2 separate regions of the Homo sapiens genome follow, and region 2 is linked to region 1. The links are contacts of gene promoters, found by promoter capture Hi-C in blood cells and fetal thymus (Javierre and others, 2016). All regions are on one chromosome and are shown on one strand. Each heading gives the region's core, a stretch centred on a gene start or on the middle of the fragment in contact. The rest is flanking DNA. Distances are from core to core; before and after follow the strand shown.

The links. The method cuts DNA at HindIII sites, captures the fragments that hold promoters and counts their contacts. A CHiCAGO score of 5 or more calls a contact.
Region 2: a fragment that was not itself captured here is called in contact with the fragment with the promoter of KLK2 in region 1 in 8 of 17 cell types (M1 macrophages, monocytes, total CD8 T cells and 5 more); the score reaches 10.0 in M1 macrophages.

Annotation. Positions count from the first base shown.
Region 1 is chr19:50,872,185-50,877,479 of GRCh38, forward strand. KLK2 (kallikrein related peptidase 2) reads left to right here and starts at 1,255. Exons shown (of 5, transcript NM_005551.5): 1 at 1,255-1,335; 2 at 2,537-2,696; 3 at 4,288-4,574; 4 at 4,688-4,824. The coding sequence starts at 1,290. RefSeq lists promoters at 1-1,280, 655-1,280, 927-1,280, an enhancer at 1,079-1,093 and a cis regulatory region at 1,079-1,093. The HindIII fragment of the contact is 10,018 bases long and covers 1-5,295 here.
Region 2 is chr19:50,581,313-50,586,171 of GRCh38, forward strand. No RefSeq gene overlaps it. Among named protein-coding and RNA genes, the nearest start is that of LRRC4B, 15 kb to the left of the region's middle. The HindIII fragment of the contact is 176 bases long and covers 2,434-2,609 here.

The DNA of each region.
Region 1 (5,295 bases), core at 5-2,504:
CTGGCTGATCTTGAACTTCTGACTTCAAGTGATTCTTCAGCCTTGGACTCCCAAAGCACTGGGATTGCTGGCATGAGCCACTCACCGTGCCTGGCTTGCAGCTTAATCTTGGAGTGTATAAACCTGGCTCCTGATAGCTAGACATTTCAGTGAGAAGGAGGCATTGGATTTTGCATGAGGACAATTCTGACCTAGGAGGGCAGGTCAACAGGAATCCCCGCTGTACCTGTACGTTGTACAGGCATGGAGAATGAGGAGTGAGGAGCCACCGGAACCCCATATTGTTTAGTGGACATTGGATTTTGAAATAATAGGGAACTTGGTCTGGGAGAGTCATATTTCTGGATTGGACAATATGTGGTATCACAAGGTTTTATGATGAGGGAGAAATGTATGTGGGGAACCATTTTCTGAGTGTGGAAGTGCAAGAATCAGAGAGTACTGAATGCCAACGCTTCTATTTCAGGAACATGGTAAGTTGGAGGTCCAGCTTCTGGGCTCAGACGGGTATAGGGACCAGGAAGTCTCACAATCCGATCATTCTGATATTTCAGGGCATATTAGGTTTGGGGTGCAAAGGAAGTACTTGGGACTTAGGCACATGAGACTTTGTATTGAAAATCAATGATTGGGGCTGGCCGTGGTGGCTCACGCCTGTAATCTCATCACTTTGGGAGACCGAAGTGGGAGGATGGCTTGAGCCCAGGAGTTGGAGACCAGCCTAGGCAACATAGCCAGACCCTCTCTCTACAAAAAAATTAAAAATTAGCTGGATGTGGTGGTGCATGCTTGTGGTCTCAGCTATCCTGGAGGCTGAGACAGGAGAATCGGTTGAGTCTGGGAGTTCAAGGCTACAGGGAGCTGCGATCACGCCGCTGCACTCCAGCCTGGGAAACAGAGTGAGACTGTCTCAGAATTTTTTTAAAAAAGAATCAGTGATCATCCCAACCCCTGTTGCTGTTCATCCTGAGCCTGCCTTCTCTGGCTTTGTTCCCTAGATCACATCTCCATGATCCATAGGCCCTGCCCAATCTGACCTCACACCGTGGGAATGCCTCCAGACTGATCTAGTATGTGTGGAACAGCAAGTGCTGGCTCTCCCTCCCCTTCCACAGCTCTGGGTGTGGGAGGGGGTTGTCCAGCCTCCAGCAGCATGGGGAGGGCCTTGGTCAGCATCTAGGTGCCAACAGGGCAAGGGCGGGGTCCTGGAGAATGAAGGCTTTATAGGGCTCCTCAGGGAGGCCCCCCAGCCCCAAACTCACCACCTGGCCGTGGACACCTGTGTCAGCATGTGGGACCTGGTTCTCTCCATCGCCTTGTCTGTGGGGTGCACTGGTGAGATTGGGGGGATAAAGGAAGGGGGGCGGGTTCTGACTCTTATGCTGAAGCCCTTTTCCTCCCACCCAGTGCCCCAGCCTCGTCCCTTCAGCCCACAGTTCAGCCCAGACAATGTGCCCCTGACTCTTCCACATTGCAATAGTCCTCATGCCCACACTAGGTCCCCGCTCCCTCCCACTTACCTCAGACCTTTCTCTCCATTGCCCAGCCAAATCCCTGCTCCCAGCTGCTTTACTAAAGAGCAAGTTCCTGGGCATCTCTGTGTTTCTCTTTATGGGGTTCAAAACCTTTCAAGGACCTCTCTCCATGCCACTGGTTCCTTGGACCCTATCACTGGGCTGCCTCCTGAGCCCCTCAGTCCTACCACAGTCTACTGACTTTTCCTATTCAGCTGTGAGCATTCAACCCTGTCCCCTGGACCTTGACACCTGGCTCCCCAACCCTGTCCCAGGAAACCCAGATTCCACCAGACACTTCCTTCTTCCCCCCGAGGCTATCTGGCCTGAGACAACAAATGCTGCCTCCCACCCTGAGTCTGGCACTGGGACTTTCAGAACTCCTCCTTCCCTGACTCTTTGCCCCAGACCCGTCATTCAATGGCTAGCTTTTTCCATGGGAAAAACACGAGCACCCCCAACCACAACGGCCAGTTCTCTGATTCCCTAAATCCGCACCCTTTTCAAAACCTCAAAAACAAAACAAAACAAAACAAAGCAAGAAACAACTCAGGCAGAACTGTTTGCTTAACCTTGGACATGGTAAACCATCCAAAACCTTCCTCTCCCAGCAACTAAACCTCTCCACTGGGCACTTATCCTTGGTTTCTGGAACCTCTTATTCTCTTAGAACCCACAGCTGCCACCACAGTGTCCCTTCTCCCAGTGTAAGACCCCAAATCACTCCAAATGACCCAACCCCCAACCCGATGCCTGCTTCAGATGTTTCCCATGTCCCCTACTCTGATCTCTGGGGTCAGCTCCGTTCTCAGAGCATGAAGCCTCCCGACCTGGTCCAGCCACCAACCCGCTAACGCAGGGAATAGCTACAGAATTGCCAGCCCTCCCAGGACCCCTTGCTTGTGTCCTGGACTCCCAGTCCTGGTCCTCTGCCCCCATGTCTCTTCAAACCCACAGCTCAGCTCCCTCCCCTATCCAATTCTTTTGGGTCTGATCCCCCTGACCCAGCACCCCCTCCGCAGGTGCCGTGCCCCTCATCCAGTCTCGGATTGTGGGAGGCTGGGAGTGTGAGAAGCATTCCCAACCCTGGCAGGTGGCTGTGTACAGTCATGGATGGGCACACTGTGGGGGTGTCCTGGTGCACCCCCAGTGGGTGCTCACAGCTGCCCATTGCCTAAAGAAGTAAGTAGGACCCTGGGATCTGGGGAGGGAATGGCTGTGTCCCACAGGAATAACAGCGGGATGCTTCCCCCAGGGTCACTTCTCAGGTGAGGCTTCAGACTAAAGGAGAGAGGGAAGGTCCTGGCCCAGGTCGCACCCGGAGGCAGAGCTGGGGCTGGACCACTCTCCCCATGGCTGCCTGGGTTTCTCTCTGTGTCTGATCTCGCTGTGTCTCTTGGTATCTGGCTCTGGTTGTGTCTGTATGACTGTGTTTTGGTCTCTATGTCCCTCTCTCTTTTCTGTCTCCCTGTGTCTGTGTCTCCCCCGTCTCTGTCTCTGGGTCTCTCTGTGGCCATCTCTGTCACCGTGTGTCTCACCCTGCATCTCTTTGCCTGTCTTTCTCTCTGGGTCTCTGCCTCAGCCCTTCCTCATCACTACTGAACACACCCCGTGAGGGTGGGTGGGGAGCACCCAGAAAAAGGAAGGACTTTAAGCTCAATGTGTGTGCATGTGAGGGGGTGCCTGTCATTGCACAGCACTCTCTGCAGGACATCCCTCCACCCTGGGGAGACACAGGGAGGGCTGGTTTCAGCTGTAGCTGGGTGCACAATTGAGGAGGGAGGAAGGAGAAGGGGAAACAAGAAAGGAGGGGAAGGTGGCCGGGCACGGTGGCCCACGCCTGTAATCCCAGCACTTTGGGAGGCCGAGGTGGGTGGATCATCTGAGGTCAGGAGTTTGAAACCAGCCTGGCCAACATGGCAAAACCCCGTCTCTACTAAAAATACAAAAAGTAGCCAGGCGTGGTGCTGCGCGCCTGTAATCCCAATTACTAGGGAGGCTGAGGCAGGAGAATCGCTTGAACCCGGGAGGGAGAGGTTGCAGTGAGCCGAGATCGTGCCACTGCACTCCAGCCTGGGTGACAGAGCAAGACTCCATCTCAGAAAAAACAAACAAACAAACAAACAACAAAAAAAATCGAAAGGAGGGGAAGGGAGCTGGAGAGAGAAAGGGGGACGTGGCCCTGAGCTGTGGGCCGGGCCACCCGCCACTACAGAGCCCTCACTCCAGCCCCAGCTGCAGGTGAGCCACCCTCATGCCTCTCCTCCTCCCCCTGCTACTCCACACTCCTCAGATGCCCCCGTGGCCTCCCTCCTTTTTCTCTCCCACACTGTATCACCCCTGGCTTCCTCTCTGCTGTTTCTCCTTCTCTCTCTGACTTCCCGCATCCTTTTCTCATTTGTCTATTTCTCACTCCCTTCCTGGTTCTGTTCTTTCTCCCTTCCTCTTCCCCATGTCTATTTCTTGCTGTCTCTGTCTCTTCTTTGCTCATCCTAATTCTCACTGTTCTCCCTTCTGTTTTTGTCATTCCTCTGCCATTTTATGCTCTCTCTTTTCCACTTCGTTTCTTTCAGTTTCTGTCTCTGCCTCTCACATGATCACACTCCTGTTTTCTAACTCACTGTCTGTATTTCACCACGACTATATCTCCCCGACCCCTGTGCTTTTCTCACTGTTTCTTTTTCTTCCCTTTGGAGTCTCCCTTATCCTCCCCTGCCCCATCTACCTTTCCCCATTTTCTCTCTCCTCATGCATCCACCCCCTTCCTCCCCAGGAATAGCCAGGTCTGGCTGGGTCGGCACAACCTGTTTGAGCCTGAAGACACAGGCCAGAGGGTCCCTGTCAGCCACAGCTTCCCACACCCGCTCTACAATATGAGCCTTCTGAAGCATCAAAGCCTTAGACCAGATGAAGACTCCAGCCATGACCTCATGCTGCTCCGCCTGTCAGAGCCTGCCAAGATCACAGATGTTGTGAAGGTCCTGGGCCTGCCCACCCAGGAGCCAGCACTGGGGACCACCTGCTACGCCTCAGGCTGGGGCAGCATCGAACCAGAGGAGTGTACGCCTGGGCCAGATGGTGTAGCTGGGAGCCCAGATGCCTGGGTCTGAGGGAAGTGGGGCCAAAGAACCAGGTGGGGTCCGGCCACAGCCCAGTTTTTCTCTGACCCATAGTCTTGCGCCCCAGGAGTCTTCAGTGTGTGAGCCTCCATCTCCTGTCCAATGACATGTGTGCTAGAGCTTACTCTGAGAAGGTGACAGAGTTCATGTTGTGTGCTGGGCTCTGGACAGGTGGTAAAGACACTTGTGGGGTGAGTCATCCCTACTCCCAACATCTGGAGGGGAAAGGTGAGTGAAGACCCTAATTCTGGGCTGCAATCTGAAAGCTAACCAGACATCTGCCTCCCCTGCTCCCCAGCTATAGCCACGCCCCCTCCCCATGCCTCATCTGCCGCCCTCCTTCCCCCTTCCCTGACTCCCTCAACACAAGAGGTGATTCTCACAGCATAATTCACCCATTCCTGTGTTGAGCACATGCTTACTGGGCACCTGCTACGTGACCAGCATTGCCGTAGACCCTGGGAAGCAGCAGTGAACAGGTAGAGAGCAGCCTCTCCCTCCTGCAGCCCCCATGCTGGTGAGGGGCACTGGCAGGAACAGTGGACCCAACATGGAAATGCTGGAGGGTGTCAGGAAGTGATCGGGCTCTGGGGCAGGGAGGAGGGGTGGGGAGTGTCACTGGGAGGGGACATCCTGCAGAAGGTAGGAGTGAGCAAACACCC
Region 2 (4,859 bases), core at 1,272-3,771, 290 kb before region 1:
ACATGTTCTTTCTACTCTGCCATAATGTTTGGGACAAAATTGAATCATGAGGGTTTTTTTCTTCCATTACAAATGTAACACATCGCTCCTGCGTACGGCTGGGATGAGTCACTGGCACCAGACGTGCCCTCCTGCAAAAAACAGCTATGAAACTGGACAAAATACAGGAGGGCCACTGTTTTCAGGCGTTGAACAGTGGAAAGAGGACTGCGATCCTTGAGAAGAGACGATGGTGAAGGTGAGCCCATGTGTTGGCCCAGGTTCCTCACTGGGAGCCCTGTCCCTACCACAGCACAGAGATACGGGGCTAAAACAATGCAGTTGTTTTTTTGTGTTTTCTCTTCTCTTCTTTCTATTATCTTTTTTTTTTTTTGAGACCAAGTCTCGCTGTTACCCAGGCTGGAGTGCAATGGTGTGATCTCAGCTAAATGCAACCTCCACCTCCTGGGTTCAAGCGGTTCTCCTGCCTCAGCCTGTCAAGTAGCTGGGATTATAGACTCGTGCCATCATGCCTGGGTAATTTTTTTTTTTAATTTTTTTAGTATTTATTGATCATTCTTGGGTGTTTCTCGGAGAGAGGGATGTGGCAGGGTCATACGATAATAGTGGAGAGAAGGTCAGCAGATAAACACGTGAACAAAGGTCTCTGGTTTTCCTAGGCAGAGGACCCTGCGGCCTTCCGCAGTGTTTGTGTCCCTGGGTACTTGAGATTAGGGAGTGGTGATGACTCTTAACGAGCATGCTGCCTTCAAGCATCTGTTTAACAAAGCACATCTTGCACCGCCCTTAATCCATTTAACCCTGAGTGGACACAGCACATGTTTCAGAGAGCACGGGGTTGGGGGAAAGGTTATAGATTAACAGCATGCCAAGGCAGAAGAATTTTTCTTAGTATAGAACAAAATGGAGTCTCCTATGTCTACTTCTTTCTACACAGACACAGTAACAATCTGATCTCTCTTTCTTTTCCCCACATTTCCCCCTTTTCTTTTTGACAAAACCGCCATCGTCATCATGGCCCGTTCTCAATGAGCTGTTGGGGACACCTGCAGAAAGGCTGTCACTTCACACTTGGAAGATTGCACAGCGGCCAGGCAGAGGCACTCCTCACTTCCCAGACAGGGTGGCGGCCGGGCAGAGGGGCTCCTCACTTCCTAGACGGGGTGGCCGGGCAGAGGCGCTCCTCACTTCACGCCTGGATAATTTTTGTATTTTTAGTAGAGACGGGGTTTTGCTGTGTTGCCAAAACTGGTCTTGAACTCCTGGCCTCAAGGGATCTGCCCGTCTCAGCTTCCGAAAGTGTTGGGATTACAGGCGTGAGCCACCGTGCCTGGCCCAGAGCAGTCTTACTGAGCCGAGGAGACAGAGAGAGGGCTCTGGGGGCTGCTGACAAGGCTGGAATTTGCAGGATAGGGCAGTGGGGAAAAGGGAGCCGCATGAGGTGGGCCCCCAGAAGCCTGTGTGTAGTTCACCATAGGTCCTTGGCTAAGGACTGGACGGTGTCTGCAGAGGACAAGACTCCATGAGTACCAGTCGGGGGTAGCTGCTACAAAGATGAGAGATGAACAGAAATAAAAGCCGTCATGCAGCGCTAGGAGATGAGTCTCCAGCCCAGCCAGAGTGGGAGGGCCTCACTAAGCTCCTGGGCACTCAGCTGAAAGCTCAGGAAGGCCATGCTTTAGGAGTAAGGCCCTGACTTAATATTCTGTTGAGTGGATACAGCATGGTTAATTTAACCATTCCTTTCTAGTTGGATACTCTGGTAATTTTATTTTTCAAAAACTAGGCCTGGCATGGTGGCTCATGCCTATAACCCCAGAACTCTGGGAGGCTGAGGTGGGTGGATCTGTTGAGCTCAGGAGTTTGAGGCCAGCCTGGCTAACATGGTAAAACCCCGTCTCCACTAAAAATACAAAAATTAGCCAGGTTTGGTGGTGCGTGCCTATAGTCCCAGCTACTTGGGAAGCTGAAGTAGGAGAATCGCTTAAACCCGGGAGGTGGAGGTTGCAGTGAGCCGAGATGGTACCACTGCACCCATCCAGCCTGGGTGACAGAGCAAGACTCTGTTCAAAAAAGAAGTAAAAATAAAAAATAAAAATAAAGGCCAGGCACAGTGGCTCACACCTGTAATCCCAGCACTTTGGGAGGCTAAGATGGGCGGATCACCTGAGGTCAGGAGGTCGAGACCAGCCTGGATAAGATGGCGAAACCCTGTCTCTACTAAAAATACAAAAATTAGCTGAGCATGGTGGCACGCGCCTGTAGTCCCAGCTTCTCAGGAGGCTGAGGCAGGAGAATCGCTTGAAACTGAGAGGCCGAGGTTGCAGTGAGCCGAGATCACGCCACTGCACTCCAGCCTGGGTGAGAAGAGCAAGACTCCATCTCAAAAAAAAAAAAAAACTATTATAAAATATCACCATGAACCTCTTTGTAAGCTTCTGACTTTCAGGTGAATTCCCAGGCATGGGATATTTTCAGGGTATGGACATTGTTCCTGTATTTGACACCTTTCACCAATTTGCTTTCCAAAATTGTGGCAATTTACCTTCTGACAACTGAGTATCAGCATGCATGTCTGTTTGGCTGCACTCTCTCTAGCATTTGGTAGAAGCTTAAAACATTTGTTGCTCATTTGATGGGCAGAGGAAGGAATCACTGAGCTGTTGTAATGCTATGCCTTTGGGCTTTATAAAAGGAACTAAATGAAACAGTTAATGTGAAAATTGCTTTAGCTTCTGCAGAAAACTTTTGTTAATGACCCAGCAATTCAACTCATAGGAACTTATATTCAGGAAGTCATCAGAGAGGTAGACAAAAATATACACACAGAGATGTATCTCATAGAATCATTTATTATAGCCAAATCTGAAAAAAACTTAAGTGTTAATGGAGTACATGTGATCTGGGGATGCTGCTTTACCTGTAGCCTGTTTTCATTTCACTCCTAAGTTATTTATTTATTTTATTTATTTTTATTTTTATTTTTTATTTTTAGAGACAGAGCCTCGCTCTGTTGCCCAGGCTGGAGTGCAGTGGCACAATCTCAGCTCATTGCAACCTTTGCCTCCCAGGTTCAAGCGATTCTCCTGCCTCAGCCTCCAGAGTAGCTGGGACTACAGGCCGGTACCACCATGCCCGGCTAATTTGTGTATTTTTAGTAGAGATGGGGTTTCACCACGTTGGCCAGACTCGTCTCAAACTCCTGACCTCAGATGATCTGCCTGACTCAGCCTCCCAAAGTGCTGGGATTACAGGCGTGAGCTTCTGTGCCCGGCCCTGCCATATTATTATTATTATTATTTTGAGACAGAGTCTTGCTCTGTCACCCAGGCTGGAGTGCAGTGGCACAATCTCAGCTCACTGCAATTTCCACCTCCTGAGTTCAAGAAATCCTCCCACCTCAGCCTCCTGAGTAGCTGGGACTACAGGCGCCTGCCACCACGCCCAGCTTATTTTTGTATTTTTTTGTAGAGATGGGGTTTTGTCATGTTTGCCCTGGCTGGTCTCAAACTCTTGGGCTCAAGCCCCCTGGGCTCAAGTGATCCAGCCGCCTTGGCCTCCCAAAGTGCTGGGATTATAGGCATAAGCCACCATTTCTGGCCACTCCTGCCTTATTGACTAATAATTTTATTATTATTATTATTGTTATTGAGACAGAGTCTCTGTCACCCAGGCTGGAGTGCAGCGGTGCAATCTTAGCTCACTCCAACCTCCACCTCCTTGGTTCAAGTGATTCTCTTGCCTTCGTCTCCCAAGTAGCTGGGATTACAGGTGCCCACCACCATACCCAGCTAATTTTTGTATTTATGGGGTTTCACCATGTTGCCCAGGCTGGTCTCGAACTCCTGGGCTCAAATGATCTGCCCTCCTCAGCCTCCCAAAATGCTGGGATTACAGGCGTGGGCAACCACACCCAGCCACTCCTGACTTATTGACTAATAATTTTATTATTTTTATTTTTTTGAGACAGAGTAACCTATAATTTTAGCACTTGGGAAGGCCAGGGTGGGAGGATAGCTTGAGCCCAGGAGTTTGAGACCAGCCTGGGAAACATAGGGAGACCCCCGTCTCTGCAAAGAATCAGAAAAATTAGCCAGGCGTGGTGATACGTGCCTGCTCAGGAGGCTGAGGTGGAGGATCTCTTATCGGTGACAGGCTCTTCCACCTGGTACTTTCCCTCTACTTCGTGCTGCGTTTTGGCTGACAATAGCCTTAAGGGAGAGGAAATCAATATATATTCCCCCCATAGGACTGGCAAAACCAAAGTTAACTGGTGTAGTAAGCATTGATGAGATGGGCTGGGCCAGTGGCTCACTCCTGTAATCCCAGCACTTTGGGAGGCCAACACAGGCGGATCACTTGAGGTCAGGAGTTCCAGACCAGCCTGGCCAACATGGTGAAATCCCGTCTCTACTAAAAATACAATAATTAGCTGGGCATAGTGGCAAGCGCCTGTAATCCCAGCTACTTGGGAGGCTGAGGCAGGACAACCGCTTGAATCCAGGAGGCGGAGGTTGTGGCGAGCTGAGATCGCACAGCTGCACTCCAGCCTGGGCAACAGAGAGAGGCTCAGCTTAAAAAAAAAAGCACTGATGAGGATGTGGGGGAACAGGTCCTCTGTCCCATTACCAGCAGAAAGAAAATCAGGCTGGGCTCAGTGGCTCATGCCTGTAATCCCAGAACTTTGGGAGGCTGAGGCGGGTGGATCACCTGAGGTCAGGAGTTGGAGACCAGCCTGGTCAACATGGTGAAACCCCGTCTCTACTAAAAATACCAAATTAGCTGGGTGTGATGGCGGGCACCTGTAATCCCAGCAACTCGGGAGGCTGAAGCATAAGGAGCAGCTGAACCCGGGAGGC